3 separate regions of the Homo sapiens genome follow, and all the other regions are linked to region 1. The links are contacts of gene promoters, found by promoter capture Hi-C in blood cells and fetal thymus (Javierre and others, 2016). All regions are on one chromosome and are shown on one strand. Each heading gives the region's core, a stretch centred on a gene start or on the middle of the fragment in contact. The rest is flanking DNA. Distances are from core to core; before and after follow the strand shown.

Evidence for each region. The method cuts DNA at HindIII sites, captures the fragments that hold promoters and counts their contacts. A CHiCAGO score of 5 or more calls a contact.
Region 2: a contact is called between the fragment with the promoter of TBC1D10B here and the fragment with the promoter of TUFM in region 1, in 1 of 17 cell types (fetal thymus). The highest score is 6.6, in fetal thymus.
Region 3: a contact is called between the fragment with the promoter of TAOK2 here and the fragment with the promoter of TUFM in region 1, in 1 of 17 cell types (non-activated CD4 T cells). The highest score is 5.1, in non-activated CD4 T cells.

The regions. Positions count from the first base shown.
Region 1 is chr16:28,845,082-28,848,479 of GRCh38, forward strand. TUFM (Tu translation elongation factor, mitochondrial) reads right to left here and starts at 1,267. Exons shown (of 10, transcript NM_003321.5): 1 at 1,137-1,267; 2 at 831-1,025; 3 at 233-399. The coding sequence starts at 1,188. It also overlaps a transcript of SH2B1 not described here. RefSeq lists an enhancer at 1,129-1,618. The HindIII fragment of the contact is 15,792 bases long and covers 1,039-3,398 here.
Region 2 is chr16:30,368,587-30,371,984 of GRCh38, forward strand. TBC1D10B (TBC1 domain family member 10B) reads right to left here and starts at 1,908. Exons shown (of 9, transcript NM_015527.4): 1 at 642-1,908. The coding sequence starts at 1,597. It also overlaps a transcript of MYL11 not described here. RefSeq lists silencers at 1,334-1,413, 1,504-1,793. The HindIII fragment of the contact is 4,560 bases long and covers 1-3,398 here.
Region 3 is chr16:29,972,185-29,975,582 of GRCh38, forward strand. It overlaps TAOK2 (TAO kinase 2), which reads left to right and starts at 1,684. Exons shown (of 16, transcript NM_016151.4): 1 at 1,684-2,464. It overlaps TMEM219 (transmembrane protein 219), which reads left to right. Exons shown (of 6, transcript NM_001083613.2): 6 at 766-864. LOC124903762 reads left to right here and starts at 1,438. Exons shown (of 2, transcript XM_047435036.1): 1 at 1,438-1,596; 2 at 1,813-2,451. The coding sequence starts at 1,438. The coding sequence ends at 2,451. RefSeq lists a silencer at 1,374-1,743 and enhancers at 2,167-2,938, 2,645-2,774. The HindIII fragment of the contact is 1,984 bases long and covers 1,388-3,371 here.

The DNA.
Region 1 (3,398 bases), core at 17-2,516:
CCAAGTTCAACGAGCTCTTCAGTTCACATCCATATAGCCAAGTGTAGCAGTTAGAAACTCAGGCCCACCTTTCTCTACCATCTCCTCACCACCCATTCTGCGTGGCCAAGACCACAAACCTGCCATCTCATACCCAAACACTGAATATCTTAATCTCCTCCCCACAAGCCTAACATTTATCCTGACAAGAGGCAGCTTCTGGCCCTGTCTCCAGTGTCCCAGCAACCCTCACCTTAACATAATCTGCATGACCCGGGCAGTCTGTGTGGGCGTAGTGGCGGGCGGCAGTGCTATACTCCACATGAGCCGCATTGATGGTGATACCCCGAGCTCGCTCCTCCGGGGCATTGTCAATCTCCTCGTACTTCTTGAACTTAGCCCCACCTCCCTCAGCTAGAACTAAAGGAGGAAAAGAACACACCTCTCAGCTAAAGTTCCAGTGCTAGAGGCAGAGCTTAGACCACGCCCCTGAACCCTCCCACCTAAATACATAACCTCCTCCAATCTCTAACTCTTCCAGCAGAGAGAACTGTGGGTCAGAAAGAAATGTTAGAGGGCCTTAAGGGTCTGCCCTGTGACTTCTTTAGGGTACAGCCTCTGCTTGCAGAGCATTCCCCACGACTTTGTGATCCCCAAGCCATTGGTGGATCACAAAGTTCTTCCTGTTCAGGAGAAATTTGTCTCTTGCATCTCCCAATCCACCTGTCGCACAAATTCGGGCTCTTGGGGCCACAGTAAACTCCTCCAGCAGACACTCTGCTGGCCTTGCCTCCCTGGCTCCAGGTCCCATCAGTAGATAGGGCGCTGCTGGACGCCCCAACCCCACTCACTCTTCGTGATGGCTGCAGTCAGCGTGGTCTTCCCGTGGTCCACATGGCCGATGGTACCCACATTCACATGTGGCTTGTCGCGCACGTAAGTCTTCTTGGCCTCCACGGCCAGGCCGCGGCACAAGAGAGGCAATGCCGGGGCTTTCAGCAGCCGCAACAGACCCTGCAGCAGGAAGGTCCGGCCGGCGGCGAGACCTGCCGGGACCGAAGCTTGGAGTCAGGCAGGGAAGGGGTCAGACCGAACCCAGCCACCTACCACTCCCCCAAAGTGTTCCTGGGCCGCCATCGCCCTCCCTGACCACTCACCGCTGAAGTGGGGCGTCGCGCGCAGCAGGGTGGCGGCCGCCATTGTGGTCATACTCGCGCCCCGGTAACCGGGGAGCCGGGACCAGGAGCCCGAGCGCACAGAAGAAGAAGGGCGCCTGCGGCTGGAAGGCACTTCCGGCGGAAGTTAGAGCTGGGAGGGCAAGTCCGGGCCCCTCTAGCCGCCAGTGTCTATGGCCGTCTCAGCCGACGTCGGGCGCGCGGCTGAAGACGTCATGGAGGGGGCTGGTGTCTCGAGGGCGGAGTATGATGGAGAGGTTTTCCACCACTCGCGCCTCTCGGGCTGAGGGGCAACGTAGTTCTCTCTGGCGGTCGCAGGGGGCACTGAGGAGCGTCCCCTAAATCACCGGCGCCGCGAAGGCTCATGGGCGTAGTAGTTCTCAGGTCGGCGGGCTGTGGAGGTGATCAGAGTGGGAGTCAGGCGGGCTAGGCCGGACCCGGAGGGAGGGGCTCGGGCTCCGGGAGGCAGCTGCGGCTCCGACTGCTCAGGAACCTCCTCCTGGGCCCGGCAGAGAGAGACCCCGAGTCCCCCGGAGTCCGACTCGCTACGCGGGTCTTGCGAGATATCTGGCCGCCTCTGCCGCAGCTGGAGGTAGGGGACCAGGTCCTGGACGCCTTTCGGGGATGGGGTGAAGTGTGACCTCCCTCTTCGCTGAGACTTTGTTTTCTAATCTGTAAAATGGGAATAGTAGTATCCACTTCATAGGGAGAGCCTGACATCTAGCCCTGAGAGGAGATGAACTGGGTAGGAGTCAGTGTTGGGCCCTGTGAGGTCAGGCAGCTTGCGGGGACCCTGTACTGCTAGACCTCACAGGGCCAGAGCCCACAAGACAGACAGCTTCGCTGCCCACCCCTGTAGTCCCTCAGCAGCCTAAGGAGCAGTTCCGTTGGGCATCGCCCCACCCATCTAATTTTGCAGATGAGGAGCCAAGGATGAGGAGCCAGCTAGGGGAGCCTTTAAGGGGAGCCTGAGTCTCCTTTAATCTGTCGGTGTCCCCAGCACCTAACAGGGTGGAGCATGCAGTGAATGTTGAATGAATGGGTGCAAGGGTAGTCAATGTCCCTTAACTTTCACATCCATCATCTCATGGCAGCTTCCACAGGGCACTCCAAAGTGTTAATTATGGCTGCTTAACCCTGGCTAATGTTTCGGAACTCATCAGATCCTGAGACTCAGTGGACAGTGTTTGTTTCAAATAGATTCCCTAATTCCTCCCCTGGAGGTTATGATTCCGTGGGGTCTATGCACAGACTGGGAAGCTATATAACAAACACTCTTCTAAAACTGAGAAGAGGCTGGGCACGGTGGCTATAGTGCCAGCCTATAGTCCCAGCAGTTTGGGAGGCTGAGGTGGGAGGACGGTTTGAAGCCAGGAGTTCAAGACCAGCCTGGGCAGATTAGGAGACCCTATCTCTACAAAAAAAAATTTAAAATTAGCCAGGCACAGTAGCATGCAGCTATAGCCCCTCCTACTCAGGAGGCCGAGGCAGGAGGATCGCCTGAGCTCAGGAGTTCAAGGCTGTGGTGAGGTATGATCATGACACTGCACCCCACCGTGAGTGACAGAGAAAGACCCCATCTTTTTTTTTTTTTTTTTTTTTTTTTTGGAGACAGAGTCTCACTCTGTCGCCCAGGCTGGAGTGCAATGGGGCGATCTCGGCTCACTGCAACCTCCACCTCCTGGGTTGAAGCAATTCTCCCACCTCAGCCTCCTGAGTAGCTGGGACTACAGGCATGTGCCACCACGCCTGGCTAATTTTAGTATTTTTAGTACAGATGGGGTTTCACCTCGTTGGCCAGACGGCTCTCGAACTCCAGACCTCAAGTGATCCGCCCATTGTGGCCTCCCAAAGTGCTGGGACTACAGGCGTGAGCTACCACGCTCAGCCAAGAAAGACCCCATCTCTATAAAAATATTTTGGCCAGGCGTGGTGGCTCACACCTGTAATCCTAGCACTTTGGGAGGCCGGGCGGGTGGATTGCTTGAGTTCAGGAGTTCGAGAACAGCCTGGGCAACACGGTGAAACTCTGTCTCTACTAAAATACAAAAAATTAGCTGGGCGTGGCAGTGTGCACCTGTAGTACCAGCTACTCAGGAGGCTGAGGCAGGATAATTGTTTGCACCCGGGAGGCGGAGCTTGCAGTGAGCTGAGATGGTGCCACTGCACTCCACCCTGGGCGACACAGCGAGACTCCGTCTCCAAAAAAAAAAATTTTTTTTCAAATGAAAACTCAGAGGAGTT
Region 2 (3,398 bases), core at 658-3,157, 1.5 Mb after region 1:
TAGGAAAGAGTCAGCCCGGCTGGGGAGATGAGGAAATGGGGAAGAGGCCTCTCCCACCCTTTACTTCAGTGCAGATACAAGACTGCCCTGTTTCACAGCGGGATCCTGACTGCACAGTCTCCCTTCCATCAGCCAGACTTCCCCACCTCTCTACTCCATCCCTGGGACCTAGGGCTATGGGGGAAGGGAGATGCCTGCACCCCTCCCAGGCTATCCACCCTAAGGGACCAAGGGTCTCTACCAGAACCCTCGCCCAACCAACCCTCCAGAATATCCGGCCTGTAGCTGGAGTTCCCCATCAAAGAGCAGGGATGACCTCAGGTATCATCTCATTCAATCCACTTTATAGAGGAAAAAACTGAGGCACGGAAATGGGGAAGCCACTAGCTCAAGGGCACACAACCCATCAAAGGCAAGGCTTAAACCCAGACCTCTTGACCCCTGGTCTGAAACTCCACTAACATGCCAATGTCACAGGCACCTCAGGATGCTCAAGACACGGCAGCTCGCGCTGATCACCCCGTGGATCCTCAGAGGAGGCTGGGCTGCCAGAGTCTGGGCAAAGTGTATCGTTTTCGTTTCGCCCTCCCCCAACCTTTGCTTCCCCGAGGCGGTCCCGCTGGGTGCCCACTGGTACTCACAGGCTGCCCGAGTACTGGCTGCCCCCAAGGAAGCCATACTTGTCCGTCTTGCGCAGGGCCAGCCCGTTTATCTCTGAATCTGAGCCCATGGAGCTCACATCATCCGCCAAGGACTCCAAGGTCCCAGACATGAGGCTCACGGAGTCCAAGTAACTCAGCGTGTCCGGGGCCTGCCCTCGAGGCCCAGAGATGCCAGGTCCCAGGCTGGACGTGGAGCCCAGGTCTTGAGAGTTTTCAGCAGGCTCCGGAGCTGGGGTCACGGTCACGACAGCTACCGGAGCCTCACAAGTCCCAGAGGGGCCTGTGCCAGGGCCTGAGGGGTCCTCAGGAGCCTGTCCTGCTGATGCTGATGTTGCTGCGGCAGCTCCATGCCCACCTGTCACTTGTCCTGATGCACTCCGTGCAGTCACTCCTGAGGCCACTGTGGTTCCCGGCTTGGGGGCAAGCGGGGGTTTGGCGGTCAGGGCACCAGGAGCCGTTCTGGAAGGGGTCCTGGTAGGGGTCCCGGTGGGGGTCCCTGGTCCTGGGGCGGGTGAGGGTCGAGCCTCCTCTGTCTTCGGCGAGTCTGCCCCTGCGGCCAGAGCCCTCGATGTCTCAACTCCAGCCACTGCCGCGGGCTCTGGGGATTCCGGGCCGGAGGGGAGCTGCGGCTTTGGGGCTTCGGGCGAGGCCTCCAGGGTCAGCACCACCACCGTGCTGCCCGTGACAGCCGGGGCTGGGGCCGGGGCTGGGGCCGGGGCCGGAGCAGAGGTCTCGGCCGACCCCGGGACCCAGGCGGGCCGCGCCTCCCCGGGGGCCACCAGGGTGACGGGGGCCGAAGTGGCCGTAGTCACTGGAGGTCCCGGAGCCACCACCACGACGGGCCCGGCCCGGGAACCCCGGGGCGGCGGCGAGGGGGCCGCGGGGGCGCCATGACGGCGCGGCGGGGCCACCAGGGGCGCCGTGCCCGTCTCCATGGCCGCGGGCCGCCCCTCACATCCCCCCGCCGGGGAGGCCGCAGAAGGCGCCGCCCCTCGGGCCTCCCGGCGAGGCCAGCCGAGAAAGGGGAGAGGGCGAAGGGCGCGGCTCGGCGCGCGCCGGGGGCGGAGCGGCCGCTGGGCGCGCAGAGGCGGGGCAGGGGTCGGGGGGCGCCGCGCGCCGGGGTCTCTCTCGAGCCCTCTCACCCCCTCGCGCGCTCTCGCCACCGCCCCCTCCCTCCTGCTTGGGGGCGAGCCGCCGACCTCGCGCCTGCGCACACGCCGCAGAGCCGGCTCCGCGCCAGCGTCTCGGCGTTCCACGCCTGCGCGCGGACTGGCTCATCGCGCTCCTTTTTTCTCCCGCCTAGTCAGAGGATTTGGACGAATAGTGGGAGAGAGAGAACTGGGCTTCTGCCAATCGTTGGAATCGTGGGCGGGGCTGGAGGCGAAAAAGGGGTGGGTCATCTGGAAAGAGGAAACGGAGAAAGCTAGGGCTGTAAGACCAATCAGAGGACGAGGAAAGGCAGGGGGCGATGGGACGAAAGAAATAACCAATAGAAACGCAGGGGTCTGAACCTCCTGGCCAATGAATATGACTGAAGGGTGAATGACCGCGGAAGGGCGGAGGAGGAGGCAGGGCTGTGCGAGTAAGAGGTGGGGCCTGGAGGCTTCTTAACCAATAGGAATGGTAAAAAGGGAGCCAATGAAAAGGGGAGCAGGTGGAGGTCAAATTGACAGGCAGTGATGTCTATTTAGGCGGTGACAGACAGCATCCGCAGTCAATAGGAAGAGCTGAAGAATTCTTTAGGTCTCCCAAAATGGTCAGTAAGGAATGACAGCTGGGAGGAGGCGGGGCAAGCTAGAGATTAATTCGCCCCGTCAGCCAATGATCGTGTTCTCCCACTTTGGCCACAGGACAGGAAAATAGATAGCTGTCTCAGCCAATGGGAGCATCCAAAGGGCAAAGATGCTGCCAGCAGGCGGTGCCAGCCCAGGGATAGTCGGTGACAACCGGAGACAAGCCTTATGGGAGGGTGACAGCTGGGGACAGCACGGAGAAGGGGCGGGGGCATTAGTGCAGCCCTCAACCAATGAGTGCCGCGCTGCCCCCTCTCGAGTCCTTTCCGGTCCCCTATTCTTCGTTCAGCTCCTGAGCCCCACACTCTGGTGGTCTGTGGGACCCTGAGCCCCACCACAGATCCAGTGCCCTGACCCAGTACTCTCATCCTTTACTCTATAATTCTCCGATCTCGGCCCCCAACTAACCCCAACACTCCAGGCCCAGGTGGCAATAGCCAGAGCCCCCAGATCCTATAAGCAACCCATATCTCTGCTTCACCCATTTCCTGCGGGAATCCCAACCTCCAAGTCCCTCTCCTCAGTTCCCATCTATCTGAGCTCCTCCCCAGAACCCAGGCTCCAGTTCCTCAGACCTTATCCCTCTGAGTACCCCCTCCATTTCTTCTAGTGGGGATCTCAAACCCCAAATCCATGAATCCCTAATACCATGAACTCCCCATATGTGTGTTACTATTCTTTTGGGGATCCAAGGCCCCAGTCCCGTCAACCCCTCTCCCCTCACTGCCACATCCCTCTGTGCTCCTCATGTTCCACTGAGAATCCCGACCTCAATCTCATGAGCGCTCCAGGTTGTCCTTAGATCACAAGCATAAAGACCTGACGTTATGAGCTCCAACCTTCCAACTTCTAAACGCCCTCTTCTTTCTCTGACCCCCATATTCTGATTTCCATATAGCATCCACCATCCTGGAATTCCAGTGAGACCTAGCTCCCGACTTCT
Region 3 (3,398 bases), core at 434-2,933, 1.1 Mb after region 1:
ACCATGTTTGTCTTGCTTTTGTCCTGAAATTCCAATACCCAGTTTTATGATGGAAATTTTGTAAAATTCAACTTGAACCGCTCAGAAGAGTCTAACTGATGATACTCATTTACTGGGGACATAGTATGTGCCCAAGAACTTGACATGCACCTTCTGTCTTCCATTTAGTCATCGTTACCTTTAGAAAAAGCTGATTCCGTTAACAAGATCTTTGGAGGGAATCAGCTTCACAAACGTAGCAGTGGGTGGGGGTCATGTTGGTTAACCAGTTCACACATCAGCTCACTAAAGGAAAAAATATTTCTGCAAAAAATCTTCACTTGTCAGAGGGGGGTGCATGAAATTTGAGAGCCATGTGTTATGCATCCAGCTCTTGAACTGGTCTCAGCTTCAGCTGGCTGCAGTGCCCTAGGAAGTTACTATGGGAAAAGTGGAAATAGTTGAGGCCCAGGGAACTGATCAGGCCAGAGGAAGTGGAAGCTCAAGATCAACTGTGCTTATTTTGCTGATGGCTGGGCCTAAATGCCCCAACCACCTACTTGGGACAGGAAATGACAGGACCCTCTCAACCTTGGACTGGGAAAGGAGGGCTTCCTGGCCCCTGACAGACCCTGGGGTCCTGAGGCTACCTTAGTTGGGATTAAATGCCCGTATTGGTCTCTAGCTGTCACTCCCTCTGCTCCTTCCTCAATTTCTGCACACATCTCAGAGCTTCCTCTAGCAGCTCTTCGACCTGTTTTGTTGTTTTATTTTCTTTCTCCCCAGGTGTGAATCAACTTCTTGGGCCTTGGCTCTGAGTTGGAAAAGGTTTTAGAAAAAGTGAAGAGCTGGAATGTGGGGGAAAATAAAAAGCTTTTTTGCCCAGTGGCGTGTATGGTGTTTATTGGGGGTTGGATTGAGGTGGGGATTTTAGGGTAGGCAGGCTTAGAAGTTTTGGGGGACTCTTTCCTGTTGACTCTCTAGTTTGGACACAGGTTGGCATAGGGCATAGGTTACTTGAGCTCTCCCCATGGTTGACTTGGCTTTGGTAAACACCTGTCTTGTTTTCTTCTACGAAATAAAATGGATAATTACAGTTAGTTGGGCGGGTGGGGTGTCAGGTCATGGAAATGCTGTGACATAAATGCACTGTGACCTTGGCAAGTCTTGCAACCTGCAGCGCCTCAATTTCCGTAAGAGATTTGACCGATTGAGTTTTCCCAGCGTCGACGCGCAAAGATTCCTCGCACTTGGAGGCCCTTTTCCAGGTTAGATGGTTGCTAACCTCGGAGCAGTCTATTTTCCCGCCTTTTCCGCGCCCAGCAGCAGCTTCCTTTGCCCCTCCCAACTTCCACCCTGCGCGCAGTCGCAGATCGCCGCTGCTGTCCGTCCACCCGCGCCCCCTCAAAGCTTCCCCTAGCAACAAGCTCGGGCTCAGAGCGAAGGCGGGGCGAGCGCATGCGCTGCAGCTCTGTCCACCGCCAGTCGTGGGACAGAGTGCCGGGCTCCTCCCCTTGCAAGTCTAGCTCTTCTCCCCGCCTCCTCCGGCCTGGGGTCCGCGTGGCGGGGCGGGCGCGCACTCGGGCTTGGCGGCTGCCGGTCTCCCAGGCCGCGGCAGTGAGGAGAGAGGGCGGGGCTGAGTCCTCTGCGCCCCCGCCCCCTTTAGCCCGGCGTCCCTACCGCGCCTGCGCGCTCCCGCCCGGTCTCCATCTTGGAATTGGGAGGAAGAGGGAGAGGGAGACCGGGACGAGACCGGGGCTGTGGTGCGGAGAGAGGCTGAGACGGAGAAGAGGAGAGGCAGAGAGGGCGCGGGGACCGTCAGCAGCACCTTAGCTACAATCGTTCAGCTATTCTCGGAAGAGAGAAGGGAGAGGGAGGAGGCCGGGGCGGGAGTGGGGGCTGTCACCCTCGGACCCCGGCGTGAGAGGGGCCGTGCGGCCGGACGTCCTCGGGGTGGGCCCCCAGTCGGTGGCCGAAGACCTACAGCTCAGGCCCCTGGGTCCCAAATTTCCAGGCTTTGCCCCTCCTCCTTTCTCAGATACCCGGGTAACAGTCCTCATAGTCCAGATATCCGGGACTCGGGTCCCAACCTCTCTAAACCTGGGTCTCTGTTTCATAGAATTTCAAATATCAGGTTCAGGCCCCTGCGTGCACCAGTATCCGGGGTTCATTCCCCGGGCGTTCAAATATCGGATTCAGTCTCCATCCCGTTCAGATATTCGGGGTTCAGACCCCACAATCAGAAATCCGGAATTCGGCAGCTGTCGCCCTCGACGAGGGGGAGGACTGGACCGCGAGGTCAGATTAGGTTGTCACCCCCTCCCCTCCAGGGGAGGCTTCCCGGGCCCGCCCCTCAGGAAGGGCGAAAGCCGAGGAAGAGGTGGCAAGGGGAAAGGTCTCCTTGCCCCTCTCCCTGCTTGGCAGAGCCGCTGGAGGACCCCAGGCGGAAGCGGAGGCGCTGGGGCACCATAGTGACCCCTACCAGGTGAGACACGGGGTGCAGGGGCGCGGGTCCCTGTGTCTAGTTCTGAGAAGAAAGGGTGCGCCTTTCTGAGAAGCTGGACTTGGGTAGGCCCTCTCAGGATGGGGAAGCCCAGCTGAGCGAGTGGTCAGCCTCTGGCTAGCCTTGCCTTCTGTTGCCACCCCCTTCCCCTTCCTCTTCCCTTCATTGTGTCTGGTTGGTGGGGGACCTCAGGTGACAGGGTCTCTGATGTCACCGGCGTTCACACCCTAGGGTGCTTCAGCTAATCAGATGGATTTGCACTTCAGTCTTCTCTCCTTCACTTTGCCCCTCACAGCCACCTCTCCTCCCTGATATGTCCCGTTCTCCTGGCTATTCTGTGGTTTTGATTCCCATGCCTCTGATTCCCATGGTGGGTCTGCTTATCTGCTTTTCAGGCCTGGTCTGGTTGGATTTCTTGTCCTTGCAAGGAAGTGTGTGTATATGTGTTTGTGTGTATGCGTGTGTGTGTGTGCTTGGAGGTGCCTGGCAATGTTTTCCCCCAGCTGCAGTTACCTTCCAACCTCTTGCTGTGATGGTGTCAATAATCTCATCCATTTGTCAAACGATCTGTCTTTTACAAAGTGCTTTGACAGCCATTCTCTCATGTGACATCCCCGCATTCACCCTGTGGGGGCCTCTTTTATTGGCATCTTCCCATTTTACAGTTGAGAACGTTGAGGCCGAGAGAGGTTGCCCAAGGTCACACAGTGGCAGAACCAGAATTTGAACTCAAGTCCTCAATCACATCTTTCCCTGATGCATGCCTGGTTCTTGCCATCTCTTTTCCTCTGAGTTTGGGCTCGGCCAGGGGTCCCTAGGAGTCCAGGCTGGGGTGAGGTTTAAGAATGGGGATGAGATGAGCTTCCTTTCCAGGAGGGCTCTACTCAGAAGCTTTTCCTGATGGGAGCCTCTGGCT